2 separate regions of the Homo sapiens genome follow, and region 1 is linked to region 2. The links are contacts of gene promoters, found by promoter capture Hi-C in human tissues and cell types (Jung and others, 2019). All regions are on one chromosome and are shown on one strand. The core of a region is centred on a gene start or on the middle of the fragment in contact, and the rest is flanking DNA. Distances in the headings are between cores, read along the strand shown. Region 1 holds the start of CLIP1 (CAP-Gly domain containing linker protein 1). Region 2 holds the start of ACADS (acyl-CoA dehydrogenase short chain).

What was found. Contacts are between HindIII fragments. The study calls those that stand out against the background at their distance.
Region 1: a contact is called between the fragment with the promoter of CLIP1 here and the fragment with the promoter of ACADS in region 2, in 1 of the 25 tissues and cell types used here (aorta).

Annotation. Positions count from the first base shown.
Region 1 is chr12:122,419,956-122,424,956 of GRCh38, reverse strand. CLIP1 (CAP-Gly domain containing linker protein 1) reads left to right here and starts at 2,288. Exons shown (of 26, transcript NM_001247997.2): 1 at 2,288-2,436. RefSeq lists an enhancer at 1,013-1,112 and silencers at 2,222-2,571, 2,592-2,991. The HindIII fragment of the contact is 23,258 bases long and covers 1-5,001 here.
Region 2 is chr12:120,723,113-120,727,850 of GRCh38, reverse strand. It overlaps ACADS (acyl-CoA dehydrogenase short chain), which reads right to left and starts at 2,025. Exons shown (of 10, transcript NM_000017.4): 1 at 1,920-2,025; 2 at 662-825. The coding sequence starts at 1,965. UNC119B (unc-119 lipid binding chaperone B) reads right to left here. Exons shown (of 5, transcript NM_001080533.3): 5 at 4,211-4,738. MIR4700 (microRNA 4700) reads right to left here and starts at 4,658; the gene lies at 4,585-4,658. RefSeq lists a silencer at 1,706-2,215 and an enhancer at 1,852-2,353. The HindIII fragment of the contact is 31,377 bases long and covers 1-4,738 here.

The sequences.
Region 1 (5,001 bases), core at 1,039-3,538, 1.7 Mb before region 2:
AGGCATGCGCCACCATGCCCGGCTAATTTTTGTATTTTTAGTAGATACGGGGTTTCACTATATTGGCCAGGCTGGTCTCGAGCTCCTGACCTCGTGATCAGCCCGCTGTGCCCGGCTGATATATTTTTTAAAAAATAAAAATTAATGGCCGGGCACGGTGGCTCACGTCTGTAATCCCAGCACTTTGGGAGCCCAAAGCAGGCGGATCACGAGGTCAGGAGATCGAGACCATCCTGGCTAACACGGTGAAACCCTGTCTGTACTAAAAAAATACAAAAAATTAGCCGGGCGTGGTGGCGGGCACCTGTAGTCCCAGCTACTCGGGAGGCTGAGGCAGGAGAATGGCGTGAACCCGGGAGGCAGAGCTTGCGGTGAGCCGAGATCGCACCACTGCACTCCAGCCTGGGCGACAGAGTGAGACTCCATCTCAAAAAAAAAAAAAAAAAAAAAAATTAACGCCAAGACTCCATGATGAACAAAATGATATAATTATAAATAAATAAGCAAATGATGAACATGACAATGACATAGAATAACCCATGAGAACAAGCAAATATACACACACACACACACACACATATATATACATATATATATACATGTGTATATATATATATATTTTTTGAGACAGAGTCTCCCTCCGGCACCCAGGCTGGAGTGTAGTGGCTTGAACTCTGGTCACAGCAACCTCCGCCTCCCGGGTTCAAACAATTCTCGTGTCTCAGCCTCCCGAGTAGCTGGGACTACAGGCATGCACCACCATGCCCAGTTAATTTTTGTATTTTTTGTTAGAGACGGGGTTTCACCATGTTGGCCAAGCTGGTCTTGAACTCCTGTCTGCAGGTGATCCACCCACCTGGGTCTCTCAAAGTGCTAGAATTACAGGCGTGAGCCACCACACCCAGCCCCAAAACAATATTTTTAATAAAGACAGGCTCAGCCTACTGAGTAGAGAAGAAAAGACAAGCCCATAAGTGTTCCTAGCTGAACTCCCCCATTAGAAGTGGTCTGTGCCTCATCCTATGACATCTATGATTCCACAGCTTGCTGATTACAGCTGAAGACTGTTTAGATTAGGGGGTGAGGCGCGCCTTTCAGATTAGGAATATGGATATGGGATTTCAGGAGTACCACCACCACCTGACCTTGCAGCCTGTAAATTAGGGCGATGTTGAATTAGGTAACAGCATTTCGAGGGATTTCAGACATGAATGGAGAGGAGGGGCCAGGAGACAAATTTACATAGTTCAGAACTTCGTGCATTACCAGAGCAGTTCCCTCTTCCTGCTGGTCCAGGCAGCACGGTGCTTTGAATAAAGGTCAGCTAGAGGGGTCACCCGCCGATTATTCTCTTCTACTGGCAAGGAGGAGGAAGCCCCTGCCCCCTTATCCACCACAAAATCCTGGGCTTCCCCGACAGCTGCAAATTCCTCCCTGGAGATGTAAGGCTTCTGGGGTTGCCATGGTCCATGGGAGTGAAATGCTGGCCGCCCTCTGCTACCCCAGCCCCGAGCAGGCTGTTGCAGCCTTCCCTCCTGTCCCTTTCAAAAGCTTTTAAAGGAAATCCCAGGGGGGAAGGAGGATGGGACACTAACCAGGGCTTCCGTCCAAGCAGCCAGGGCGAATAAAAGGGGCTTTTCTCAAACGAACGGAGCAAACCCTGGGATCGTTTCAAAGGATTTTTAACCCGCGGTCGTTCCCGGAGGGAAGTGGGGAGCAGATACAGTTCTTCCCAAGCTTAACCTGCTCTACAGTTCCTTTCAGCATTTTCTCCAGGGACGCCTCATCCAGGGTCTTTCCCTGGAGGGAGGCGAGGGCAGAGATGATCCTTCCCAATCCCCAACTTAACCTGCTTCGGAAGCGCCTTGCAGCCTGTTTCAAAGGATTTCTCACCCTTGTCTGGCGGGAAGGGGAGGGCAAACAAATGAATCAGCCCCAAAGAGCGGGCTGAGGTCGAGGCTGAATGGGGCTCTTGGGTGTGACTTGCAAATTCTGGGAACACTTTGCAGAAATGACGAGAAGCCCCTCGGAGCAGGCCTGTGGGTTTTCCCTCGCACCTTGCTCCCCAAGCCGGGGCTCGGGAGGGTTCGAGGGCGGAGCGGCGGGCGCGCCGGGGCCAGGGTCCTCCCGGGGCCGCGGTGGGCGCAGACAAAGAGGCGGCGGGGCGGCGCGGGGCCGGGCGCGGGCCGCAGGGCCGGTGCGGACTCGAGGGGCCGGGCCGGCCGGGCCGGCCGGGCGGGCGCGGCGGCGGAGCGCTGGGAGGAGCCGCGCGGCGTCTTCTCCTGGCAGCGCGCGCCCGCCCGGCCCCGCGGCGGCGGCGGCGCGTCACGCTCTCCCCCGCCCCGAGCCGACGAGCCGGGAGGCGGGAGGCGGCGGCCGCGGCGGCTGCTGCTGCTGCAGTGGGACAGGTGGCGGCGACCGGCGGCGTCCGAGGAGGTGAGCAGGGGGCGGCGCGGGCCCTCTCCCTTTCCCGGCACCCCCTGCTCCCCTGCCGGCTTCCCGGCCTGCGGGGCCCGCCCAGGGTCGGGTCGGGGGTCGAAGCCCGGCGTCCGGGAGCGGGGCCGAGCCTCGCGCGCCGGAGCCGTCCGGGAGGGGACCGCGGGAGTCTCGGGTGGCCGGCGCCGGAGGCCGGGGGTCCCTGGGGGGCTCCTCCGGAGCTGGAAAAGTGGCGGCCCTGTCAGCGCCGAGCCGGGCCTTCGCTTCCTCCGCCCGCCTCAAGATGGAGCTTGGACTCCTTGCCCCTGCGCCGCCCCAGGCGCCGCTCTCTCCCTGGCGCCCCGCTCCCTCTCCTGGGCCCCGGGGCGGATGTGGGATCGGCCGGACCCCGGGAGGCCGAAGCCGGGCGGGACCTGTTGCCCCGGGCGCCGCGCCTGTCACCTGAGCATTCCTCAGGCCCCGGGTGCCCGGCGCCCGCGATCCGGCATGGAGGGCACCCTGGCCCGGCCTCCCCCGCTGCCCCGGCTTTTGTTTTCCTCTCAAGTGGGGCTGTGATTCTCGGAGACCGGGGAAGGCTGGAGGTGGCCAGATCGCTCTCGGGTTTCCGAAATCACACCGCTGCCCGGTAATCCGAACCTTCTACCGCGGCAGGGGATTGGCGCGGAAGGCAGATGACACTTGTTCAGAGGTTATTTTACAAGCAGAACCTAGCGATTGCCCGAATTGGAAGGTCCTGCCTTTCAAAAATCGGGTTTTGATTCGGGGGTGAATCCTGAATCCGGCTGTTTCTCCACTTCATGTGGCTTTTCCATCTGGCAGGAGCCGAGCGCCACCCCCTCCTCCCTGCACAGCCCCACCTCTTTGGTATGAAGAAATTACACGTTGTCCGTCATCGGTTTAGATACCTGTTTTTAGCAAAACTTGGGCGCCAGTGAACTGTTTTTTAAAACAAAGGGTGGAGAAGATTCTGTAATTGTGTGTGTGTGATTCAGCAGCCTGGCCTTCTTCCTCTTTTAGGACAGTGGCCCCTAGCAGCTCTATAAGTATTAAGTGCTGTGGCCACTGCTGTCATTAGGGTTATGATTCTGGCTGTTCTTATTATTTGATTTGTGTCACTACTGTTAGCGATGGTATCCACGAATCAGGAGAGTATCCCAGAGTCAGGAATGTGTTTGTTTGACTTTTAGATTTAATGATAACCTTTAGCAAGAATCCCCAGGCATGTCGCTTCTCAGACTTGGGGCCTTTTTTTCTCTGTAAATTATAACAATGAACATTTATTGAAGGCATCTTGTGGCCAGGCTCTGGGCTAGCTTTTTATGTGTTTTATTTCATTTAATCAACCCTAACCCAGTGAGCGTGCTGTCGTCATGTGCATTCGGCAGGAGGGTCATAGAAAGGTCAAGTAACTTGACCAGGGTTATACAGCTAAGCACCTGAAGTCAGAATACCTTTTACCAGCATGTGAACTCAGGTATTCTGACTTCAGGTGCTTAGTTATTCGATTAGTATAGGGAATCTGTGGCAAAAAGCAAGGCTAGTCTGTCTGTCTGTCTATCCATCCATCAATCAATCAATCAATCAATGAGAGGGAGCCTCAATCTGTCCCCCCGGCCAGAGTGCAGTGGCGTGATCTCAGCTCACTGCAATCTCGGCCTCCCAGGTTTAAGCGATTCTCGTGCCTCAGCCTCCTGAGTACTGGAATTACAGGTGCCCGCCACCACGCCCGGCTAATTTTTGTATCTGTGGTAGAGATGGGGTTTCACCACGTTGCCCAGGCTGATTTCGAACTCCTGGGCTCAAGTCATCCACCTGCTTTGGGCTCCCAAAGTGCTGGGATTACAGGTGTGAACTACCGCACCTGGCCCCAAGGCTGGTCTACATTAAAGCAAAGTTGAAGTGGGTAATTGCTTGGCCAAAGGCTTGTGCCCGATTTTTAAGGTTCAGAGAAAGCAGTTAAGTACATCTTCCCACTAGACCTAGTTCAAAGGGGAAAACTGAAACCGGGTGGGACCCTGGGTAGGTATTTTGCCTGAAGATCAAGATTTTGCCCTTCCCTATTTTTTCAATCATTGCTTCAGCTCCAGCTTGCACTTCAGCATGACATAAGCTAATCTGGTTTCTGTCCTATTGAGGAGTTTAGAATCTGATATCCTTATCTCTTTTTTTTTTTTTGACATGGAATTTCACTCTTGTTGCCTAGGCTGGAGTGCAATGGAGTGATCTCGGCTCACTGCAACCTCTGCCTACTGGGTTCAAGCGATTCTCCTGCCTCAGCTTCCCGAGTAGCTGGGATTTTAGGTGCCTGCCACCATGCCTGGCTAATTTTTTGTATTTTTTTAGTAGAGATGGAGTTTCATCACGTTGGCCAGCCAGGCTGATCACACCTGACCTCAGGTGATCCGCCTGCCTCAGCCTCCCAAAGTGCTGGGATTATAGGTGTGAGCCACCACGCCTGGCCTGATGTCCTTATCTTAAAAAAAATTTTTTTTACCTAGTGGCTAAAATTCACTCTGTCACATCCCATGTGACTCATAAGGGACATGAACTAACTCAGTCATGTTT
Region 2 (4,738 bases), core at 776-3,275:
AATAATACTACCTTTGGCCGGGCGTGGTGTCTCACACCTGTAATCCCAGCACTTTGGGAGGCCGAGGTGGGCAGATCACCTGAATTCAGGAGTTTGAGACCAGCCTGGCCAACATGGTGAAACGCCGTCTTTACTAAAAATACAAAAGTAGCGGGGCAGAGCAGTGCACGCCTATAATCCCAGCTACTTGGGAGGCTGAGGCAGGAGAATCACTTGAACTCAGGAGGCAGAGGCTGCAGTGAGGCGAGGTCGCACCATTGCACTCCAGCCTGAGCCACAAGAGTGAAACTCCGTCTCAAAAAAATAAATAAGAATAGTACCTTCACCTCACAGGACCGTTGTGAGGAACAGATGAGATAACCCATCTCAAGAACAGTGCCTAGTGCATGCCAAACACCCTAAAGGCACTATTTAGAATGAGCACAGTGGCTGGCACAGTAAGCAACTGACCATCCACCACATATTACTGTTGTCCCAGAAGTTAAGTCCTGGCTACTGGCCACAGGCTGGACAAGGGAAACTTCCAGAGCATTTTCTGGGTTCCAGGCCCTGCTTTGGGGTTCCTCTACCAGAGTCCGAGTGCCGCTGACTGTCACTGCCACCATTCATCCAGTAGCAGAGGGCAGACCACTATCGTGGGCTGCTGAGGTTGCACTCTCACCTGAGCCGCTGGGAAGAGATGTTCCTTATCCACCTGGGCTGCAATGGGAAACAACTCCTTCTCGGCAAAGTCCCGGCATGTCTGGAGCAACATCTGGTGTGTCTCGGGCAGTTCCACAGACTGGTAGATGGTGTGTAACTGCCGCCAGGCCCTAGGACAGAGAGCTGCCGGCAAGGGCAGAAGTGAGTGGAAGGAGGAGGCAGGAGGTCTCCAAGAATCCTAGTGACCCACTAACTCACCAGGGAGGATTTTGCCCTCCAAGGGACATCTGGCAATGTCTGGAGCCAGTTCTAGTTGTCACAACTAGAGCAGGGGAATACTATTGGTACCCAGTGGATAGGGGTCCGGGATCCCTGCTGAACATCCAACAAGGCAGAGGACAGCCCCCACAACAAAGAACTGTCAGCCCAAAATGTCCATGGCGGCCACTGAAAACCCCATACTAACTGAATGCTTAGTACACTCACTAGACATTTCCATACACTACATCCTTCAGTCCTCAGTATAATACCAACAGTAATAAGACCTCAGCTCTGTGACCTTAGGCAAGGGTTTTAAACGTCAGTGAGCCTCCGTTTCTATAACAAGTGGAGGCGAATAGTATTCCGCTCCTCGGAGTGCGAAAGAAAGACTAACTAGCGCTTAACACAGTTCTCAGTAGCGTTCCCCTTGTAATTCAGGCCAGGCAAAGGAAGCCGTGGCTATATGTGTCACGGCTGCTACAACTGGAGACACGTAAGATGGGAAAGGTACTGTATTAACCAGCAAGAACGAGCATTTGTGGAACACCTGTTACACGCCAGGCACGAAGTGCTTTACATACCCTATGATTTAATCCTCCCAACAACTCTGATTTTCTCTGTGGACATTTTACACATGGGCCAACCGAGGCTGAGGAGGGGCTGTCTTGCCCAAGGTCACAGATGCGGGTCTGGTTCAATCCCAGGCCTGGCTCCGGAAGAAGGACGCACCCTGAACCTCTAGTGGGGGTGAAATGAAGGGAGGGAGATATGGGAACTGGGAACTGGGCTGGTGGCTGGGGTCAATCGGGGGGTAGGGGTCTGTGCAGGAACCAGGGACGCCTGAAGGGCCGGGCTGGGTCGGCGCAAGGAGCAGCAGAACTGGGGCAAAGGCCGTGAGCGCTCCCGGAGTGGGGCTCCGCCTGCCAGCGGCTCTGACAGAGCCGGCCGCCAGGACCTCCGCCCGCTGGGCCAGACGCGGGCTGAAGCCCCGCCGTACGGATCCCCAGCGCACTCACCTCTGCGGGCAGGGCCCGAGGCCCGGGCGAGCAGCGCGGCGGCCATGGGCGACAGACACAGTCCCAGGCTTCGCGACCTCCCGCTGCGAGCGCGCTGTTCCGGAGTGCTGGGGGGCGGGACCCGGGACAGAGGCCACGCCCGTAGGGCCTCGGGAGCGGGGCCGAGGTGCGCTCGCGGCCAGGGGGCGGGGCCTCCAGTGGTCCCTCCCAAGGCGAGGAACCGACGCTCGACTGCGCGCGCGGTCGGTCAGCTGGCTGTTCGTGCCCACATTCGTTAATCAAAATGCTAACAAGAGAAAGCTAAGGATAGAGCTTCGCAGAAAGGCCAGAGAGGTCTTTTTAAAGCATAAATAAGATAGCGATCTTCGGGTTAAAACTTTGTTGGCTTTGTCGGCGGGCCCATCCCTCCTAAAATCCAATTCTATGGCTTAAAAAGCCAAGACCTGCCTTGTCTATCAGGGCCCATGCCCACCGTTCCCTGGTTATTGTTGCTTAGCTTTACGAGGCAGCTCTTCTCTAAGACCCTTAGCTGGTTCCTGACTCGGGGCCTCTGTGATCACTGTTCCTTTTGTCTGGAATGCCCCCTCTTCGTTTAGGTCTCATGGATGCCTGCCCTGACCACACCAAGCCGTTTCTCCCCCTCTGGCTCTCTATCTTTCGTTCTGTTTATTCAAGGCACTTTGCATCTGAAATTATCTGCTTCCCCGACTCGCTCCGAGAAGCTCAAGGACCTGTCTTGTGTTGGTGCTCAATATTTAGGCCCCTGGAGTTGGGCTGCAAGGAAAGCTTTCTTTTCCCCAGAGGCTGTGAAGGTGGGTGGAGATGCTACCCCCGTTCCACTTCAGTACTGTGTCTCATTCCCGATTGGGGCAGAACCCAGACACATATTTGACCCCTAGCATCCTCATCAGGACACCTTTGCCCCGCCCAAGAAACTATGCTGATTTTACTTGTCCCATAAGGGTCTTCTCTTGTGCAAGTGTGATTCTGATTCCCATAGCCTCCTGGGCACCACCCACGCCCTCCCAGGCACCCACACATCCCTCCAACTGCCTTTCTTTCCCAGCACTCAGCCAGGCAGGCATCTGTTCCCAGCATTGACCTATTTGCCAAAACTTCTGTCTCTTCCTCTTGGAGGAAAGTGGAAACCTCGGTCACTACTTCCTAGAAGAAAGCCAATCAAAAGATGCAGCAAAGTCCTTAATGTGTTACCTTTCTTTTTAAATAATGCATTTAAAAGAACGCCTCTAAATTCTCAGTACTTTAAAGTCAAATGAATGGCTCCCATTGGCAAATGCTCTAAGGGCTTCCTCACCTTTCCGTCATCCCACCTGGGAACCAGCCCTGGGTGGAAGAAACGATGAAGAAGCAGGAGAAAAGGGAGAAATAAGTGAGTTGTGTTTGTGAGCAAAGGCCAATAATTGCTTCAGGTGCCACAGAGCATCTAAACCAGACTCTTGAGAATTTGTGACTGTAAATATGAACGTTCAAATTTCATTTTAAAAGTATCCAAGTTTTCCAATAGAGACAGAATCAGATAGTGGTTGCAAGAGGCGAAGTGGGGGAAGTCACCTGGCTGCAAACACAAGGAACTCAGGAACTTTCTGAGTGGGTACGATGGAAATGTCCTATATCATGATTGTGATGGGTAATAAAAGTATTCATTTGTCAAAATGCATCAATACTCTTAATTGAGGTAAATTTTACTGTAGTTAAAGTATTTCTTAATAAGCCTACCTTTATGGCCAGCCACAGTGGCTCACACCTGTAATCCCAGAACTTTGGGAGGCCAAGGCGGGTTGATCACCTGAGGTCAGGAGTTCAAGACCAGCCTGGCCAACATGGGGAAACCCTGTCTCTACCAAAAATACAGAATTAGCCGGGCGTGGTGGCATGCACTTGTAATCCCAGCTACTTGGGAGGCTGAGGCAGGACAATCACTTGAACCCGGGAGGCGAAGGGTGCAGTGAGCCACCATCATGCCATCACATCCCAGCCTGGGAAAAAAGAGCGAAACTCCATCTCAAAAAAAAAAACCCTACCTTTAAAACATGCATGTAAACTTTCAATTTACAAAGCCACTCACCCTGGGAAAATATAAAGCAAAAATATTAAGCCTAAAGTCCAGTACAATTCCTCAATCACCCTAGAAGCCAGCTATACTCTAGTTCAACTACTTACAGAAGGGCCACATAATAGCCAAAGTAAGAGAAACCTGGAGCCCCCATTCGCCCCTGCTCCCCTCAGCAACACAACGGGCCCAACAATCAGGAGACAGGACGAGGGAGACGTACTGTGAAAATCTTTCTTTTATTACTGTCTCATGTGGCAAAATAACATTTTATACAAATAAGTCACCTAGTTTACTTTGGACACAAAGACAATAAAAACTGGAATGTGATTTTGGGGGAAGCGGGAAGGAGGAGGAAGGACAGATCAGGTCATTGATGTTTCTTATATTCTGTAAAAAATAGATTTACAGGAAAAAAAATAGACTTTCACAACTTCAATGACTTTACACGGTCCTTTGTAAAACCAGTGGTAAATCCACCTCCACCAAATCCTTCTTGAGGCTGATATGTTCTGTGACATGGAATGTGAGTAACACAATGGTTCAATGATTAGGCTCCTACACCAGGTACAGCAGCACCTGATGCCACAGGAATCCTCGTGCACTGGGGTGAGGAGTCAGTCCTGTGAATTTCAGGACACACTGTCCTCATCCCCAGACCTCACTGACATCATAGTGACACTGGCCATCAGAAGAAAGTGACTTTACAGAGGGGAAAAGAGTATCCTGGAAGCGTACCGGTGGGGCA